Linked DNA regions of Homo sapiens: regions 1, 2, 4, 5, 6 and 7 are each linked to region 3. The links are contacts of gene promoters, found by promoter capture Hi-C in blood cells and fetal thymus (Javierre and others, 2016). All regions are on one chromosome and are shown on one strand. The core of a region is centred on a gene start or on the middle of the fragment in contact, and the rest is flanking DNA. Distances in the headings are between cores, read along the strand shown.

Region 1 (2,700 bases), core at 47-2,546, 460 kb before region 3:
TTTTTTTTTCTTTTAACTCTCACAACAACCCTATCTTCATTTTACAGATGTGGAAGTTGAGGCACAGAACAGTTAAATAAAAACAATTTAAAAATTGTGGTAAAAGATGCATAACCTAAATTTACCATGTAACCATTTTAACGCATATAATTCAGTAGCCTTTTAGCACAATGGCAGTGTTGTGCAACCATCACCACTACCTAGTTCCAGAATCTTTTCATCACCCTAAAAGGAAACCCTGTGCTCACCAAGTAGTCATTCTCCATTCCTTCCTTCTCTGAGCTCTTGGCAACCACTAATTTGCTTTCTGTCTCTGTGGGTTTATCTGTTCTGGATAGGCAAATGTGAGTTGCCTGTAAAGGGAATCATAACAATATGTGGCCTTTTGTGTCTGGCTTCTTCCACTTAGCGTATTTTCAAGGTGCATCCATGCCGTAGCATGTATCAGCACTGCATTCCTTTTTATGGCTGAATAATTCCATCATATGCATATACCACATTTTGTTTTTCCATTCATCCATTGATGGACATTTGATGTTGTGTCTACCTTTTGGTGATTGTAAATAGTGCTGCTGTGAGTATCCTTGTTTTATTTGAACAGCTGTTTTCAGTTCTTTTGGGTATATGTTTAGGACTGGGATTGCTGGGTCATATGGTAATTCTATATTTATGTTATGGAACTAGTTAAGTAAATTTCAGCTCAATCACACTTTTTTTTTTTTTTTTTTTTTTTTTTTTGGAGACAGGGTCTCACTCTGTGCAATGGCACGATCTTGGCTCACTGCAGCCTCCACCTCCCAGGTTCAAGCGATCCTCCCACCTCAGCCTCTTGAGTAGCTGGGATTACAGGTGCATGCCACTGCACCCAGCTAAATTTTTTGAATTTTTTGTAGAGACAGGGTTTGCGACATTGTTCAGGCTGGCCTTGAACTCCTGAGCTCAAGCAGTCCACCCACCTTGGCCTCCCAAAGTGCTAGGTTTACAAGGGTGAGCTACCGTGCCCGGCCCAGTCCGATGTTTGGTAATTGACAAAACACGGATTTGAAATCAGACAGTCTGGCTTTAGACCCCTTGCTCTGAACTATCACTTTATTGCTTATCACTGTTACTGTTGTTCCAGTATTAAGAGCATGGCTGTTTTAGGCTGATTGCCTTCTCTCCTGGGACCTGGCATCACCAAAGCACTATGTGCTCGGAAATCCATTATCTTTCCCCAGTCTTTCCTCCGTTATTGTGAGGCCTTTTGAAAATGTACCTTCCGGCCTCCCTGATGTCAGAGGGAGGCACTAGGTGCTGCCCATTGTGATTAGATGGGTTCTGGTCTTCTGCCTGCAGTGCCCCTGCTCCCCTTTGTCCCTGTGCTCACCTCTAACATGCTCTTTGAGGCTGAAGGGAGGAATAAAAGAGCAAAAACAACCGGGCACAGTGGCTTACGCCTGTAATCCCAGCACTTTGGGAGGCCGAGGCGGGTGGATCACAAGGTCAGGGGTTCAAGACCAGCCTGGCCAAGATGGTGAAACCCCGTCTCTACTAAAAATACAAAAAAATTAGCTGGGCGTGGTGGCGGGCGCTTGTAATCCCAGCTGCTCAGGAGGCTGAGGCAGAGAATTGCTTGAACCTGGGAGGTAGAGGTTGCAGTGAGCCGAGATGGTGCCATTGCATTCCAGCCTGGGCGACAGAGCGAGACTCTGTCTCAAAAAAAAAAAAAAAAGAGCAAAAACTTAATTCAGGCTTGTATTGTGAAAGTGTATTATTTATCAGAGGCCCTTTGCCTCAGTGACATACAAACCACCTGAAAATGTTAACTGTCCCTAGCCCTCTTTGTAAATTAAAGGACCTGACAATTAATGCCTTGTATAAGACAAAACGTCTTATTGAAAATAAATTATCAGCTCTTTTAAAAACATACAAAGAAGTGCATTTTTAAAAAAGTGCTCGGTGGCTAAAGAAGACTCTGTGCACTTGTTTTACTACCTTCGTAGTAAGTCTGCCCAAAATTTACTGAGCACAGAGCAGGTCCTCTTTGGTTTGTCACTAAGGCCATCTTCTCTTTGTCAATTTAGCCCGTGGAACACAGAGCATTCCTAATGACAGTCCTGCCCGGGGTGAGGGCACCCATTCTGAAGAGGAAGGCTTTGCCATGGATGAGGAGGACTCTGATGGAGAACTGAATACCTGGGAGCTGTCAGAAGGGACAAACTGTCCACCCAAGGAACAGCCTGGCGATCTTTTTAATGAGGACTGGGACTCGGAGTTGAAAGCAGATCAAGGGAATCCATATGGTAGGTGTGGAGTCTCTGGGGGTCCTGAACTAGGCCTTCTCAGACACACCTGTCAGACCAGCCCTGAAGGCAGTTTGGAACAGGGGTCCACATCTATGAGCTTAGGCTGGTATCTGTTACAGGTCTCCAATTTCTGTGACACCTTCTCTTTTATATTGAAAAAATCCAAATTTTGCATTTGACTCCATAATGTATCACTGTTTTAAAGTCAAAACTGTTACTCTCTCCAAAAATCTCTGCTATGAATTGAGCAGCTGCAGATAGAAGTGCTGTGTTATCCAGTTTGCTTCTTCACTGCTAAGAACCCTTGTCTGAGAAGCATAGCTTCTCAGCTGTTCCGAATGAACGCATTTACAATTCTTCAGGAAAGGAGAACTGTGTGTGTTTTTAAACAAAATAAGTGCAAGGATCTGTCCCC
Region 2 (2,700 bases), core at 27-2,526, 430 kb before region 3:
ACTTTGGGAGGCCAAGGTAGGCAGATCGCTTCAGCCCAGGAGTTTGAGGCCTGATGAATATAGCGAGACCTTGTCTCTGCAAAAAATTGAAAAATTAGTTGGGCATCGTGGTGTGCACTTGTGGTCCCAGCTACTCAAAGAGGCTGAGGTGGGAGGATTGCTTGAGCCTACAAGGTCAAGGCTGCAGTGAGCTATGATCACACCATGGCACTCTAGCCTGGGCAACAGAGCAAGACCCTGTCTCAAAAAAAAAAAAAAAAGAAACAATATATAAAGTTCTGTAATTCACATTACTGAAATTGGAAAGATAATCAACATGACCAAACTTAATCATAGTTGTGTCTGGATGTTCTGTAAATGGACCAGTGATGTTTGAATGAATATAATAAAAACATAAAAACTTAAAATTGTTTTAATATGTGTTTTCAAAAGTTAATTTTGAATATTTCATTTTATTTTATTTTTTCAAGATGGAATTCCGCTTTTGTCTCCCAGGCTGGAGTGCAATGGCACAATCTTGGCTCACTGCACCTCTGCCTCCTGGGTTCAAGTGATTCTCCTGCCTCAGCCTCCCCAGTAACTGGGATTACAGGTGTGCATCGCCATGCTTGGCTAATTTTTGTATTTTTAGTAGAGATGGGGTTTCACCATGTTGGCTAGACTGGTCTTGAACTCCTGACCTCACATGATCCACCTGCCTCGGCCTCCCAAAGTGCTGGGATTACAGGCGTTAACCACCATGCCTAGCTTTAATTTTGAATATTTTAGAAGAAAGTATATTAAAATTAAAAGATATCCAGGAAGCTCCCCATTTATTTAGGTTTCTTTAATGATTTTCAAAAGGATTTTATAATTTTCTCCATAAATCACTTTTGTTAGATTTATTCATTTCAGTTTATCTTTTTAGCATGACTATCTTTTTTTTTTATTTTCAAGGGATGGGGTCTTTGTATGCTGCCCAGGCTGTACTCAAATTCCTGGGCTTAAGCAATCTTCCCACCTCAGCCTCCTGAGTAAAGACAACAGCATGTGTTACTATGCCCAACCGATGATTATCTTTTTAAAAATTACTTTTGTAATTTGATGCTGGTTGTAGAAATTCATTGACTGTTGTATATTAATTTTTTTATTCAGCAACTTGCTAAACTTTTTTATTAAAGCTAATAATTTCTTTATAGATTTTTGTGTTTTCTATGTAGCCCAATCATATACATGAATAACGAATATTTTATTCTTTTCTAATTCTTATGCCTTTATTATTCTTCTCTTCATCCAATATGATATTGAATAAAAATGTTATAAGCAGGCACTCTTTTCTTTGGTCTCAAAGGGAGAGTATTCAATGCTTCACCATTAAATTAGATTTCTGCATTTTTAATTGTTGTTGGAGAAAGTGGTCTATAGGATACCAGTATACCAGTCCTTTGAAATTTGTTGAGACCTGAATGTAATTAAATTTCTTAAGTATTCTATGTATTTCTGGGAAATGTATATTCTAAAATAGATGGGTGCAGTGATTTATATCACTTTAAAAAGTTAAACATCTTATATATAAGAAAACTTCCAAACTGTTTTCTAAAGAGGTTGCATCATTTTACATTCCCACCAGCATCATATGAAAGTTCCAGTTTTTCCATATCATTGCCAACACTTGGAATAGTTATTATTATTATTATTAGTTTATTTATTTTTTGAGACGGAGTCTCACTCTGTTGCCCAGGCTGGAGTGCAGTGGCGCGATCTTGGCTCACTGCAACCTCTGCCTCTCGGGTTCAAAAAATTCTCTGTCTCAGTCTCCCAAGTAGCTGAGATTACAGGTGCCTGCCACCACACCCAGCTAATCTTTTTGTATTTTTAGTAAAGACGGGGTTTCACCATCTTGCCAGGTTGGTCTTGAACTTCTGACCTCGTGATCCACCCGCTTCGGCCTCCCAAAGTGCTGGGATTACAGGTGTGAGCCACCGCACCTGGCTTGAAATAGTATTTTTAATGTTAGTCATTCTAGTGGTGTGTGTGGTATCTCATGGTGGTTTATTTGAATTTACCTAATAACAAATGATGTTGAGCCTCTTCTCATGAGCTTATTTGCCATCTGTATATCTTCTTTGGTGAAGTGTCTGTTCAAATCTCTTGCCCATTTTCTCTCTTCTTTTTTTGAGACAGAGTCTCGCTCTGTCACCCAGGTTGGAGTGCAGTGGCACGATCTTGGCTCACTGCAAGCTCTGCCTCCTGGGTTCATGCCATTCTCCTGCCTCAGCCTCCCGAGTAGCTGGGACTACAGGCACCCGCAACCACGCCAGGCTAATTTTTTGTATTTTTAGTAGAGACGGGGTTTCACTGTGTTAGCCAGGATGGTCTCTATCTCCTGACCTCGTGATTTGCTTGCCTCGGCCTCCCAAAGTGCTGGGATTACAGGTGTGAGCCACCGCACCCAGCCTCTCTTGCCCATTTTCTAACTCAATTGTCTGTCTTATTATTGAGTTACCAGAGTTCTTTATATATCCTAGATATAAAAATTTTGTCAGATATATGCTTTGTAATATTTTCTCCTAGTCTTGCCTCCTACTGTGGCAATAGGACTAGTTCAGGAACCATCAATGACATGTGAGTGGAAGTGATATGTGTGACTCTTAGGTCAACTTTTAAGACATAATGAAGCTTTTCCACTTGTTTGTTATCTTTACATTGGCTATAAAGAGG
Region 3 (2,700 bases), core at 22-2,521:
GGCCCCAGGCCCCCCATGCAGGGCCTGAGGCCTTAGATGGCCTTGGAAACCCACTTCTCAGGGCTTTTGGCTCCAGGGGAAACCCCTGACCATTTCAGCCAGGTGGGTGTCTTGTCCTCCCCTTGAGACACAGTCCCCAGTCCCCATGCCGGTGGCACCAGAGGACACTGGTGTAGTGTGCGTTTAGTGATATGACTCCGTCCACCCTACTGGCGGCACCGACCCTCCGCTTCCAGCCCTGTTAACAATCTACGTAAGTCCTGCTTTCCCCAAATAGATGCGGCCCCGCCACATGAAAGCCCTCTGCTCAGCCACCACTCCCCGAGCCTGGCTTTGCCTGGCCTGCTGCAACCAACACAGCCAGCTGCCAGCCTGGCTGCCCAGCAGAGCCTGAATGAGAGGTCACCCGACACTGGCCCGGGAGTACACGGTGGCCCCAGCAGACACCTCCTTCCGTGTCTGGGCAGGGTGTGTGCAGCCGAGGAGCCAAGGCTGCAGAGCACCCCTACCGGTCCCTTTCACCCCCTGGCCCGGCCCAGCAGGACGTACACAGACCCTTGCATCTTGGTCTCCGCAGCGCCGGGTGGGGTGGGGAGCCTAGGGCCGGATTCTGGCAGCTCTCTCCCCCAGACAAGGGTGGATGTGCAGACCGCTCAGAAGGACCTGCATGGCCGAGGAAGGAAGGTGGGCGCAGAAGCCACCCTAGGCGTGACGCGTGACGCTCGGGGCACGGGCGCCGGGGGGCGGAAAGCGAGGGCCCGGCTGGGCCAGGGATACCCGGGGGGGGCCGAGGTCCTGGGCTCCGGCGGAGGGAGGGGATTGGGAGGGAGGCCACCGCCTCGGGCCACGCGGGTGACCCGGCGGGGGAGCTGGGGGAGGGGCGGCGGGGCTGGGCTGGGGTCCCCGGGCCGGGACTGGGGTCGGGCCAGCTTACCTCCTCGCCCTGGCCGAAGCGCAGTCCGAGCGCCGCGACGCGCTCCACGCGCAGGAAGCCGTCGGGGTCGCGGCCGCACACCTCGAACACCTCGCGCAGGCGGCGCACGGAGCGCAGCAGAGCCGCGGGGGCGCCCGACCAGCCCGCGCCGCCCGCCATCCGGGCCGGCCCGCAGCTCAGCCCGGACCCCTCGCCCGCCGCGCCCGCCGCCTGCCCGCCGCCGCCATCGCCGCGCGCCCTCCGGGGCCGCCCGTCTGGGTCTGCGCCGCGCAGCCTCCGCCCGGTGGCGGCCGCGGCCGATCCGTGTCAGCAGCGGCGCCGCAGCCCCAGCCGCTCCGGAGGGGAAGGGAGGGGAGGGGAGGGAAGGAGAAGAGTGGGGAGGGGAAGGAGGAGGGGCAATAGGGGGCGGGGAGGGGAGGGGCGGGGGCCGCGGCGAAAATGGGAGGGAGAGGGGGAGGCGGCGGGGGCGGCGGCGGCGGGGACGCTGCAGACAAAAGGAGCCCGCGTCCTCCCGAGTGGGGCGGCCCACGCGGGGCCGGCAGGCGCAGCGAGCTGCCAACGGCCGCGTCCTCCGCGACCTCAGTTTCCCTCCGCGTCCCCAGTTTCCCTCCGCGTCCCCGAGCCCACCCCTTCCTCTGGACACCCGGAGCCACCCAAAGGCCCTGCCCTGCCGGAGGATTCCGCGGGGTCGCGCCCCTTTCCGCTATCCGTGCCCGCTGCCGCGCCTGGCGTCTCCCGAGCGCTCAGGATGTCCTGGGGGCCTCCTGCATTGGCGCGTTCCGTGACTGCATTCATCCCGGAGGAAGCTGAGGCCCAGAGAGGTCGGACTCACTCTAGGCCACACAGCTGGCAAGAGGCAGGGCCGGGATTCGCTGCCATCTCTGGAGGGCTCTGGACTCCGTTCTTCACCTCCGCCCTGCGGTCTCCCGGCGCTCTCCTGCAAGACAGCACTTGTGGGGCCATCGGGCGGGGGAGGGCACAGAGAGGAGGAGCAGGCAACTGAACCCCAGCCTGGACCCGGGACCCTGCGACGGGGAGATGAGGAGAAAACCAGGATGAGGCCGGAGGGAGGAAAAGCGAGGCGCTTCCAGAGGCCTGCCTGTTCAGGGCCCAAGGCTGCTCCACGCCTGGAAGAGGCTTCCTCCCTTTCGCCGGGTTCCCACCATCACACCTCCCTGGCAGCCCGCATGCCCCAAGCTCAGAGAATCCAGGACAGAATCTCTGTCCCGCTGGCCGCAGGCTCTAGGTCAGGACCCTGGCCTCCTCCCATTAGTGCTCAGCGGAGCCTCCACCCCAGCTTGTGCTAACTTCCCAGCCCAGCCTCGGGGCCCTGCAGGACCCGGCCGGGCTCTTCTCTCCACCTTCTTGCTCGGCACATCAGGTCTTTGTGGCAACGACTGGCCCCAACCCAAAAAAAGGCCTTGGCTGAGTCTACTCCCACCTATGCTGTCATGCTCAGCACAGAGGTTTCCTCCTCCGGGAAGGCTTCTCTGATGGCACGCCATCTTATCTTCTATTCTGAGTTCTAAGCCCTTCTTCCAGGTGCCCAGTTAATTCTTAATTCTCTAGTGGGATGCCCATTTCCCCTACCATGCTGGGAAGCCCTCCAGGGCAAGATATGTCTTAATTACCTTCAAGTCCCTGATCTCCAGGCAAGAGTGGGCCCAGAGGAAGCCCCACCCAGAGGGGATGGGCCCGCCCATTATGTGAGGAGCCGGGAGCAACGTAGTGGCGCAGACAGGGAGTACGGGGTGAACTGCATGGCC
Region 4 (2,700 bases), core at 69-2,568, 440 kb after region 3:
GCTGCTTAGCCCCCACACCGCAAGGGGTACAGACAGCACCCAGGGGTTCTGCCAGGGCCAAACTCCTCTAAAAGCTCCTGGGGAAGGGCTCGGTTAGGGGAACCCAGAGTGGACAGAGGAGACCTTTTGGCAATAATGGCATGTCTGTGCTTTTCTTTTGCAGGAAGAGAAGACAATGAAAAGAGCATAGTCAGGAATCAGGAATCTTTTGTGGTATCAAAGCTGAACCTAAGTGAAGAAGCAATTTTCTGTCCTCTGCCCTTGTCCAAAAGAACACCCCTCAGTTCCTGCTTCTTACTAAGCCGGTTGAGGGGCGTCAAGGGGCTGGACAGGACACCCCGCAAACTTTCCAGCCATTCCTGCTGTTCCTTCTCACTGGGGCAAGTGAGGACAAATCTCCGCTCTGGGGTGACAATGGTGAGTCCGGCTTTCCAGCGATTTCCTCGGATGCCCTTGGGCAGGTCTTCGTAGGCTTCATATCCCTGCTCCTTGTTCCCAAGAAAAACCTGGCCCTGCTCGAAGGCATCCTGAAAATGGAGAGTACAGGGTCATCAGAGGGTGCCCCCAGGGCAGAGGGGCCCTGCAGCCCTGACAGCCTCCAAGCTTTATTTTGGGAAAGGGGTATGAGGTCCCTGCTGGGATTTCTGCTAAGTGGGACCCAGAATTTGAAAGATCAAAACCCTAAAATAAATCATACACATCATCTATTGAAAAGATACCGAGGGTGGGCCTGGTAGTTCATGCCTGTAATCCTAGCACTTTGGGAAGCCAAGGCAGAGGATTGCCTGAGGCCAGGAATATGAGACCAACCGGGACAACATAGTGAGACCCCTTCTCTACAAAAAAAAATTATTAATTATTATTATGAATTGTTTTTGGAGACAGGGCCTCACTCTGTCACCCAGGCTGGAAGTGCAGTGGCACAATCATGGCTCATCCCAGCCTCAACCTCCCAGGCTCAGGCAATCCTCCCACCTCAGCCTCCCAAGCAGCTAGGACTACAGGCATGCACCACCACACCTGACTAATTTTTAAGTTTCTTTTTTTTTCTTTCTTTTTTTTTTTTTGAGACGGAGTCTCACTCTGCACCCAGGCTGGAGTGCAATGGCATGCACCCTCTGCACCCTCTGCCTCCCGGTTTCAAGCGATTCTCCTGCCTCAGCCTCCTGAGTAGCTGGGCTTACAGGCACGCACCACCACGTCCGGCTAATTTTTGTATTTTTAGTAGAGACAGGGTTTCACCATGTTGGTTAGGCTAGTCTCGAACTCCTGAGCTCGTGATCTGCCCCGCCTCAGCCTTCCAAAATGCTGGGTTTACAGATGTGAGCCACCGTGCCTGGCCTTAAGTTTCTTGTAGAGATGGGATCTCACTATGTTGCACAGGCTGGTCTCGAACTTCTGGGCTCAAGCGATCCTCCTGTCTCAGCCTCCCAAAGTGCTGGGATTACAGACAAAAGGCAGCACATCCAGCCCTAAATTTTTTTTTTTTAATTAGCTGGGCATGGTGATGCATGCCTGTATTCTGAGCTACTTAGGAGGCTGAGGCAGGAAGATAACTTGGGCCCAGAAGTTCAAGGTTGCAATGAGCTGTGATTGTGCCACTGCATTCCAGCCTGGGTGACAGAGAGAGACTCTGTCTCTAAAAAAAAAAAAATAAGTGATACCTAACATTTACGGAGCACTTATTAAAATCAGCATCAGGAATTACAATGCTTTATATATAGTAACTTAAATAACCATCATGGCAACCTCTGGGGAAGGCATTCTTATTAAGCCTGTTTTTCAGAGGAGGAAACCGAGGCACAGAGCACTAAGTACACGGCTCAAGGCAACACTACTACAAGTGGCAGGGCTGAGACCAGAGCCCAGACGGTGGGGTTCTAGAGTCCACCACACTCCTAACTACTACACATCACGGCCTCTTGGTTAGAAGTGAGCCCTGGAGACTAGAGGAAGAGATACACCATATTTAACTACCATGGGCAGCATTTTGGATACTCATAATAGACTTCCTGAAAGCGAGGAGAAGCTTCATGCCATAGGAGATTACTCAAGAGAAACAAAAACAAGGGGTAGAGGTTTTCCTCTCAAGGTTTCTCTAGCTCTGGGGCTCTGGGAGATGTGTTTATCTGTAGCTTTCACATAGTTCCAGACAAGCACCACCCAGCAATGTTTGAGGAAGCCCTGGGGAGGGAGCAGGAGTGGCTCTTACCAGTGGGTTCTTGTAATAGAGCAGCCTCCGCTCATGGCAATCCAGGGCGAACCACCTTTTCTTGAAAGGTTCTTTCTGCTGCAAAAGAGGGAACTTCTTACCACAGATGACCAGGTCAGTTTCTGAGGATAGAGGTCAGGGGCCAGCCCAGCCCAAACCAAAGGAGCTGGCCAGTCCCACTGGTTCTCCAGCCCAGCCTCCTCAGTCAGACATCCTAGTGCTTCTCCCTGGGGCCTGGATAGGAGCCCTCAGGCTCTGAAGGTTCTGCCCATTCCCCTTCCAACCCCACCATACCCTTTGCCAGCTTCACCCTGCTGCCTCAACTTGGAAGAGGCACCTTCCTCTTTTTCAGGCTGTAGACAAAGAAGCCGGAAAGGAAGTTGGAAAAAATCAGAAGTGGCTACTGCTTGGCAAGGCTGAAAGTGCTGGCCTTGGCCAAATTCTAACCTAGGTCAGGGAGAGAAAGCCCAGCAACAAGAACCAGGCGG
Region 5 (2,700 bases), core at 150-2,649, 490 kb before region 3:
GTCACCCTGGCTGGAGTTCAGTGGCTCGATTTCGGCTCACTGCAACCTCCACCTCCCGGGTTCAAGCAATTCTCCTGCCTCAGCCTCCCAAATAGCTGGGACTACGGGTGCCCGCCACCATGCCCAGCTAATTTTTTTGTATTTTAGTAGAGACGGGGTTTCACTGTGTTGCCCAGACTGGTCTCGAACTCCTGAGCTCAGGCGATCTACTTGCCTTGGTCTCCCAAAGTGCTAGGGTTACAGGATTACAGGCGTGAGCCACCGTGCCTGGGTTTTTTTTGTTTTTTGTTTTTTTTTGAGACAGAGTCTCACTCTGTTGCCCAGGCTGGAGTGCAATGGTGTGATCTCGGCTCACTGCAGCCTCCACCTCCCAGGTTCAAGCGATTGTCCTGCCTCATCCTCCCGAGTAGCTGGGATTACAGGCGTGTGCCACGATGCCTGGCTAATTTTTGTATTTTTAGTACAGACGGAGTTTCACCATGTTGGCCAGGCTGGTCTTGAACTCCTGACCTCAGGTGGTTTGCTCACTTTGGCCTCCTAAAGTGCTGGGATTACACGCATGAGCCACCGCATTTGGCCGTGCCTGGCTTTCTAACTTGGTCTTGGCTTTCTAACTTTTATGACCTTCCTCCATAGTAGTGGTATTTATGTTCATCTATTTTGGGGGAAGCTTAGGAAATAATTTCTAAGATTCTTCAATTATTATTTCTTAATTATCTATGTTTTTTTTTGAGACAGGATCCTGCTGTGTCACCCAGGCTGGAGTGCAGTGGCGCAATTTCAGCTCACTCCAACCTCTGCCTCCTGGGTTGAAGCAATCCTCCCGCCTCAACCCCCTGAGTAGCTGGGTCTACAGGCGCATGCCTCCACGCCAGGCCAATTTTAATGTATTTTTTGTAGAGATGGAGTTTTGCCATGTTGCCCAGGCTGGTCTTGAACTGCTAGAATCAAGTGATCTGCATGCCTCGGCCTCCCAACTTGCTAGGATTACCGACATCCTTAATTATCTTTTTGAGACAGAGTCTCACGCTGTTGCCCAGGCTGGAGTACAGTGACACGATCTCGGGTTACTACAACCTCTTCCTCCCAGGTTTAAGCAATTCTCCTGCCTCAGCCTCCCGAGTAGCTGGGATTACAGGTGCATGCCACCATGCCCCATGGATTTTTGTATTTTTAGTAGAGATGAGGTTTCACCACGTTGGCCAGGCTGGTCTTGAACTCCTGACTTCAGGTGATCAGCCTGCCTCAGCCTCCCAAAGTGATGGGATTACAGATGTGAACCACTGCCTCGCCCTTAATTATCTTTGGAAAGTGATTTAATTTTTATTTTGTAATAATGTAGAATAAAGGCAGAGGGGATATATAACCTGGATAAGGCTTTCAATTTTTATATTTAAGCTGTTACTCAGTTGTTTTCCCCCAATATTTGAGGTGTTTGATTGGCTGTAGTCAGCATAACACTTCTTAAAATCAGGCTGATTTAAACTCTTCTTCAGAGGAGAGTTTTCCCCTTGAAGTAAAGGTGTAGGATGACTGTTTTTTTCCTTATCTTTTAATAACTTTGATGTGATGAATGTTGAACTAAGTGATCTGATCAACACAATCTTTCTGACTTTTCCAGAGGCCATGTGGAAGTGTTACATCACCTTTTGCTTGGAAAGATTTACTAAGAAGTCAAATAGTGGGTTCCTTAGAGGGAAGGTGAGGTTGTTACATGGTTACAGTGGTTGACTAGATAGTGACTGCCTTCTGAAAGAACAGAAGCACAGATCTTTTGGTGTCTGGCACAGTTTCTGAGAACTTTTATGTTTAGCCACTCTCTCTCTCCTTGTGGGTGACGTGACATTCTAAAGGTCTGAGTCTGGTTTGCCGCCAGGTTAGGAGGGGCTCTCGTGTAACTGGGCTCTGTTCGGTGCAGCTGCCCATTGCATCTATTCATAAGTGAAACCACCATGCAGGAGCAAGTCAGCTTCTTTGAATTTTAAGAAATGCGCAAAACTGCTTTTGTTCATGTCAGAGGCCAGAGGCCCCTGCTGGGATCTTTGTAATGAACTGAGGGATTTTTCTGTTTTCAGAGGTTGGAAAGAACCATGACTGTATTCAGGAAGGCACATGAACTGAAGCTTCTGTCAGAATGCCAATACAAGCAGTTGGTAAGAACATAGAGAAAATATTCTGTGCCAGTTACAAATACCTTATTCCAGTTGTTTTGTGCCAGAGTCATGTTTTAAATATATATAGTCTTAAGATGAAGGCCACTTGGGAGTTCGGTATGTGAAGTGTGTTTATATGTGTTTCCCAGTATTTGGCCTATGCAAAAAATGAAATCTGTACTAGCAAAGGGAGGAGTATTATACAGTGAAAAGCACTTAGAACAAGAGTCATGATTTGGGTTTATTTTGTTTGTCCACCCATTCCTTTTTTTTTTTTTTTTTTGAGACGGAGTTTCACTCTGTTGCCCAGGCTGGAGCACAGTGGCGCGATCTCAGCTCACTGCATCCTCTGCCTCTTGGGTTCAAGTGATTCTTGTGCCTTAGCCTCCCAAGTAGCTGGGATCACAGGTGCATGCCACCACGCCCAGCTAATTTTTGTATTTTTGGTAGAGACGGGATTTCACCATCTTGGCTGGGCTGGTCTCTAACTTCTGACCTCAAGTGATCCCCCTGCCTCGGCCTCCCAAAGTGCTGGGACTAAGGCATG
Region 6 (2,700 bases), core at 108-2,607, 450 kb after region 3:
TTTTTTCAACCAATGATGAGGCCCTGTCCGAGAGACCAACTCGCAGCAGCTGCTGGGGTTTGGTGACCTTTCCTAACTGCAGTAGCGCTTTCTCTTCCGGCCTTTTGTACCATTTCAGCAAAAATGTTGAAAAAGCCACATTTTTCAGTGCTTTACATTGAAGACTGGGAAAAAATTCTTCCTCTAACTTGGAGGGTAAAGATTCTTCATCCCTTAACACTTTTTACTTGGTCCCAGACTGTGGCCACATTGGACAGACCTTTTATATTATTATTTATACAAATTTATGGGGTACATGTGAAATTTCGCTACATGTATATAATGTGTAGTGATCAAGCCAGGATATTTAGGGTGTTGGTCACCAGAGTATTTTTGTTAAGCATAGTTACCCCACTCTGGTATCAAATATTGAATTTATTCCTTGCATCTTACAATGTTTGTACCCTTTAACCCACTTCTCTTCATCCTCCCTTCTCCTCCCCATAGACAGACCTTTTAGCATTGCTCTGGTCTGCCTAGAAAAGCAACAGGGGGAATATATAATAATTCTACATATAGGAAATAGAGTAAGGTGAAGGCTAAAGTGCTCAGAGCTTATCCTTCTCTTACTTTGTTGGCCACAATTTCACATTCTCTTTGCTGAAAACTTCTTATCTTTCTGTCCTTTAAATACTGGAATGCCCCAGGGCTCAATGGGGTAGATGGTCTCCAAAGATGGCGCTCACCCAGTCTTTCCCTCCCAGTGTATACGTGACCCTCTATCCATGAAGAGGTTGAATCTATTTCCCCTCCCCTTGAATCAGGGCTTGTTGCATGACTTGCTTTGACCAACAGAATGCAGCTCCTGGTTAGCCTTCCAGAGGTCTGGTAGCATTTGCTTTTGTTTAGGGAAGTCAGCAGCCAAGCCACAAGAAAGCTTAAGCTAGACTCCTGAATGAGAAAGACAGAGCCCCCATATAGAGTACACCAAGGCACCAGACATGAGTGAAAGCTTCTTTGGGTCTCTGGCCAGCTAAGGGCAGCAGAGTAGCCCAGCTGATGCCACATGGAGTACACCAGAACAGCCGAGGCCTCCTCAAATTCCTGACCCATAGGATTGTGAGAAATAGTAAATTGATATTTTAAGCCATTAAGTTTTAGGATGGTTTGTTACTCAGCAACACATAACCAAAATACTCAGTCCTTGAACACCTTTTTCCTGCTTAGGTGATCCTAGCCAGTCCCATTACTAAACCAGTCTACATGCTGACGACTCCAGTTCCAAACTCTCTCCAAGCCTCCAAATCAGACATCCAACTTCTGCCACTTGGGTTTAGAATTCAGGAAACATACATCCAACTTCTTTCCCCATGTCTCTACTGGATGACTCATAGGCATCTCAAAATAAAAAGGACTTTTGAGCATCCCCTTAGGGGTCTAAGTCTTTGCCACCTTAGTAAATAGCAAATCTATTCTTGTAGTTTTATAGAGCAAAAATCTGGGAATCATCCTTGATTCCTCTTACTCTCACACCCCACATCCAATCCTTCAATAAATTCTATTGCCTCTACTTCCAAAATATATCCAGAATCTGACCACTTCTAACCATCCTGGTCGGATCCACCATTCTTCTTCACTTGGGTTATTGCAACAGCTTCCTGACTAATTTCTCTGCCTCTGCTCTGGCCTCCTTCCTCCCTACTCACCCTAGCAGCAGCCAGCGTGCTGCTTTTTAAAAGCTTAAGTCAGGCTGGGCGCAGTGGCTCATGCCTATAATCCCAGCATTTTGGGAGGCTGAGGTGGGCAGATCACATGAGGTTAGGAGTTCTAAATCAGCCTGGTCAACATGGTGAAACCCTGTCTCTACTAAAAATACAAAAATTAGCCGGGTGTGGTGGTGCACGCCTGTAGTCCCAGCTACTGGGGAGGCTGAGGCAGGGGAATCACTTGAACCCGGGAGGTGGAGGTTGCAGTGAGCCGAGATCACACCATTGCACTTCAACCTGAGCAATAGAGTGAAATCCCATCTCAAAAAATAAATAAATAGGCCGGGCGCGGTGGCTCACGCCTGTAATCCCAGCACTTTGGGAGGGTGAGGTGGGTGGATCACGAGGTCGGAAATTCAAGACCAGCCTGGCCAAGATGGTGGAACCCTGTCTACTAAAAATACAAAAACTAGCCAGGCATGGTGGTGCGCGCCTGTAATCCCAGCTACTCGAGAGACTGAGGCAAAGAATTGCTTGAACCTGGGAGGCAGAGGTTGCAGTGAGCCGAGATCACGCCACTGCACTCCAGCCTAGGTGACAGAGTGAGCCTCCATCTCAAATCAATCAATCAATCAAAAACTTAAGTCAAATAATATCACTTCTCAGCTCAAAATCCTCCAATTTCTTCCCATCTCACTCAGTAAAATCCAAAAGCTCAAATTTTTGCAAATCCTACATGTATAAGTGACTTGTATCTAGAATATATACAGAACTATTACAACTTAATAATAAAAAGACAAATAACCTAATTAAAATATGGGGAAAGTATCTGTGTTAGCCAAGATGGTCTCCATCTCCTGAACTCCTGATCTGCCCACCTCGGCCTCCCAAAGTGCTGGGATTACAGGCGTGAGCCACCGCGCCCGGCCAATATGGGAAAGGATCTGAATAGACATTTCTACAAATAAGATATACAAATGGCCAATAAGCACATTAAAAAGATGCTCAACATCAT
Region 7 (2,700 bases), core at 55-2,554, 390 kb after region 3:
GAGTAGCTCACCCATGCCTAGGTGTCCAGGGCTTTTACTAGGGATTGATCACATTGGCATGCTTCACTGCCCACATGGCTAACTTAGTCTCCTCAGCTTGACCTTGCAAGGTCAAGCTGATACTGCATGGCCCAAGGCCCACAGGTAAACAAAAACACTCTTATCAGGCAAGATATTCTAATGGCTTAGAGGTTATCTCCCAGGAGCCAGGCAGGGGCCTATTCTTTATTTGGAATGTCCAGGGTTCAAACATCCCAAGTTCATCCTGTATCACACAAAAGGATTAACTTCAAAAGTGGTATTCTTGGCCAGGTGTGGTGGCTCACACCTGTAATCCCAGCACCTTGGGAGGCTGAGGTGGGAGGACTGCTTGAGACCAGGAATTCGACACCAGCCTGGGCAACCTAGTGAGATCCCATCTCTATCGTAATTTTTCTAAAAAGTGGTATTCTTAAGTCAAGTTACTACCCTGATTGATGACAGGGAGAGAGACCAGGAAACCACTGTGTTGTAATCCCTTAGGAAACCTTACACCTTTACTTGCTTTATTATCAGGTAATTTCCAGGATGTAAGCCATACAGCCAGAAGGCAGGGTACAAAGGAGAGGAGGCAGAGATGGTACACTCATACAGAAGCTTCTCCTGATTGTCCACTGAATAGAAGGCAAGCTTTCCCTCCTCAAGGTTCAGCCAGATGCCCACCACCCCAGGTCTGTCTGAGCCAAGGACAGTTTCCTTGACCATGTGCCATGCAGAGAGCTGGCTAGTCCCCTTCCATTCCACACAACAAGAGTCCATAGTCCTTCCCAGGACCTGGTCGCGGCTCATCTCCCAGGAAGCCACCCCAACTGCCCAGTGGCTGCAATTCCTAGTGTCCACTTCCCAGTAATGCTTTCCAGAAGACAGGGCCTGGGAACATAAGACCTGGCTGGTAGAAAACCTCTCACAGCTCCAGCGATAGGGTTGTGGGCGGTGAGACACAGTCACTGTACGGGAATCCTTGGACACCTCCAGGCTGCAGGAAAGGCTCTTCAAGTTAAAGGTTGGATGGATGGCCCCTTTGGAAAAAAAAAAAGAACAATAAGAACATGGCCGGTCATCTTTTGATGGTCCATGCTAAGAAGTCTTCAAATAGCAACTTTGTATCTTTTGGTGTGATGTTTCACTCACACTAGCATTAAAATTGCTACATCACCCAACAGGAAGAAATGATAAATGTTTCAGATGATAGATATGCTAACTACCTTGATCGGATCACTATGCACCATATGTATTGAAACATCACTATGTATCCCATAAATATGTACACTTATTATATTTATTTATTTTTAAAATTTATTTAGAAAAGAAGCAGGATTTTGCCATGCTTCCTAGGCTGGTGTCGAACTCCTGAGCTCCAGCAATCCTGCCATCTCAGCCTCCCAAAGTGCTGCAATTACAGGCATGAGCCACTGCACCCAGACTATACAATTATTATATGTCAATTTTAAAAATCAGGCCAGCTCCTTCAGCCAGGTGCACTGGCTTACCCCTGTAATCCCAGCACTTTGGGAGGCTGAGGCAGGTGGAACACTTGAGGCCAGGAGGTCAAGACCAGCCTGGCCATCATGGCCAACTCCTGTCTCTATTAAACATACCAAAATTAGCTGGGCGTAGGCAAGGTGCGGTGGCTCACGCCCGTCTTATGGTGATTTATGACCACAGCTGTTTATACCTTCCCAGTTAAACTGAAACTTCCTGATTGAGGACCATGTCTTACTCACTTTGTATATTTCATTTGGTTTCCTATTGAGTGAATAAATTGCTAACACTTATACAGCATGACTACTCTAGGTGTTTTACTCATACTCACTCACTTAACCCTCATGGCAATCCCGCAAGAGAAGTACTATATTATCTCCATTTTACAGATGAGGAAACCCAGGCTCTAGGAAGCTTAAGTGACTTGCCCAAGATCACACAGCTAGTTAGTGGAGCTGCTGGGAGTCAAACCCAAGCAGTCTGGCTCTGGGATCCATGCTCTTAAGGACTATCCCAGACTGAGATGGCAGAAATACCTCAGCAGGTTTAGGAAGAGGCAGTTGGCTATAGTTGGTGGCCACAGCACAGATGCAGAAATACCTCAGCAGGTTTGGGAACAGGCAGTTGGCTGTAGTTGGTGGCCACAGCAGAGATGCTCAAAGGTTGGCGGGACTCTGAGTGCTCTTGGGTCTAGAGTCTCAACCTGCTTTGCCTTTGCAATCAGCTCCCCCCGTGGAGGGACCTGGAACAAATCCATGTGCAGTAAGCCAAGGAGTGGCCCTAGCAGTAGGGAGATGGATGTAGGATATTCTCGAAGCCCGCTCTGCGGCAAGCCAAACCCATGTTTAAAGTGGACCACATACTTACACTGAGCAAACCGAGAAGCTCTCCTGAGTGCAGGGTGGCTCTGGTCAGGCAATGGGCATGAGGAGGAAGACGGGGCTTCCAGGAGTTCTCCTAAGTAACAAAAAAATTAACAGAGGAAAGTCCCATCAGAAAAAGGCAAACTGAAGGTCTCCAAACATCATGGTCAAGGCACATGGCTGGCTTGTCTTCTTATCATCTACACATTTTTCAGTGTCAGGACTGGATCAGGCAGAGGCAGTGTGCCTGCAGCCCAGGTATGTGCACCTCCATGTTCTCACTGTGGACTTTTCACTCTTTCTTCACTAAGCTCTC

What was found. The method cuts DNA at HindIII sites, captures the fragments that hold promoters and counts their contacts. A CHiCAGO score of 5 or more calls a contact.
Region 1: a contact is called between a fragment that was not itself captured here and the fragment with the promoter of RAB11FIP4 in region 3, in 10 of 17 cell types (M2 macrophages, M1 macrophages, M0 macrophages and 7 more). The highest score is 13.4, in M2 macrophages.
Region 2: a contact is called between a fragment that was not itself captured here and the fragment with the promoter of RAB11FIP4 in region 3, in 5 of 17 cell types (M2 macrophages, M1 macrophages, neutrophils and 2 more). The highest score is 10.5, in M2 macrophages.
Region 4: a fragment that was not itself captured here is called in contact with the fragment with the promoter of RAB11FIP4 in region 3 in 2 of 17 cell types (endothelial precursors and naive CD4 T cells); the score reaches 5.9 in endothelial precursors.
Region 5: a contact is called between a fragment that was not itself captured here and the fragment with the promoter of RAB11FIP4 in region 3, in 2 of 17 cell types (endothelial precursors and neutrophils). The highest score is 7.7, in endothelial precursors.
Region 6: a fragment that was not itself captured here is called in contact with the fragment with the promoter of RAB11FIP4 in region 3 in 2 of 17 cell types (erythroblasts and megakaryocytes); the score reaches 8.5 in erythroblasts.
Region 7: a fragment that was not itself captured here is called in contact with the fragment with the promoter of RAB11FIP4 in region 3 in 9 of 17 cell types (naive CD4 T cells, erythroblasts, naive CD8 T cells and 6 more); the score reaches 9.4 in naive CD4 T cells.

What each region holds. Positions count from the first base shown.
Region 1 is chr17:31,852,394-31,855,093 of GRCh38, reverse strand. COPRS (coordinator of PRMT5 and differentiation stimulator) reads left to right here. Exons shown (of 4, transcript NM_018405.4): 3 at 2,064-2,282. Among named protein-coding and RNA genes, the nearest start is that of COPRS, 5.5 kb to the left of the region's middle. The HindIII fragment of the contact is 7,003 bases long and covers 1-2,700 here.
Region 2 is chr17:31,815,538-31,818,237 of GRCh38, reverse strand. No RefSeq gene overlaps it. Among named protein-coding and RNA genes, the nearest start is that of COPRS, 42 kb to the left of the region's middle. The HindIII fragment of the contact is 2,768 bases long and covers 1-2,660 here.
Region 3 is chr17:31,390,246-31,392,945 of GRCh38, reverse strand. It overlaps RAB11FIP4 (RAB11 family interacting protein 4), which reads right to left and starts at 1,271. Exons shown (of 15, transcript NM_032932.6): 1 at 935-1,271. The coding sequence starts at 1,093. RefSeq lists an enhancer at 1,467-2,056. The HindIII fragment of the contact is 11,828 bases long and covers 1-2,700 here.
Region 4 is chr17:30,954,068-30,956,767 of GRCh38, reverse strand. ADAP2 (ArfGAP with dual PH domains 2) reads right to left here. Exons shown (of 11, transcript NM_018404.3): 9 at 2,213-2,290; 10 at 299-527. Among named protein-coding and RNA genes, the nearest start is that of RNF135, 16 kb to the left of the region's middle. The HindIII fragment of the contact is 1,426 bases long and covers 606-2,031 here.
Region 5 is chr17:31,877,703-31,880,402 of GRCh38, reverse strand. UTP6 (UTP6 small subunit processome component) reads left to right here. Exons shown (of 19, transcript NM_018428.3): 12 at 1,622-1,701; 13 at 2,076-2,153. Among named protein-coding and RNA genes, the nearest start is that of COPRS, 20 kb to the right of the region's middle. The HindIII fragment of the contact is 1,453 bases long and covers 673-2,125 here.
Region 6 is chr17:30,936,549-30,939,248 of GRCh38, reverse strand. The region is part of intron 5 of ADAP2 (ArfGAP with dual PH domains 2); the gene reads right to left. Among named protein-coding and RNA genes, the nearest start is that of ADAP2, 16 kb to the right of the region's middle. RefSeq lists a silencer at 767-967. The HindIII fragment of the contact is 727 bases long and covers 994-1,720 here.
Region 7 is chr17:30,997,020-30,999,719 of GRCh38, reverse strand. It overlaps RNF135 (ring finger protein 135), which reads right to left. Exons shown (of 5, transcript NM_032322.4): 4 at 2,389-2,478; 5 at 1-1,058. The coding sequence ends at 529. Among named protein-coding and RNA genes, the nearest start is that of RNF135, 27 kb to the right of the region's middle. The HindIII fragment of the contact is 1,266 bases long and covers 672-1,937 here.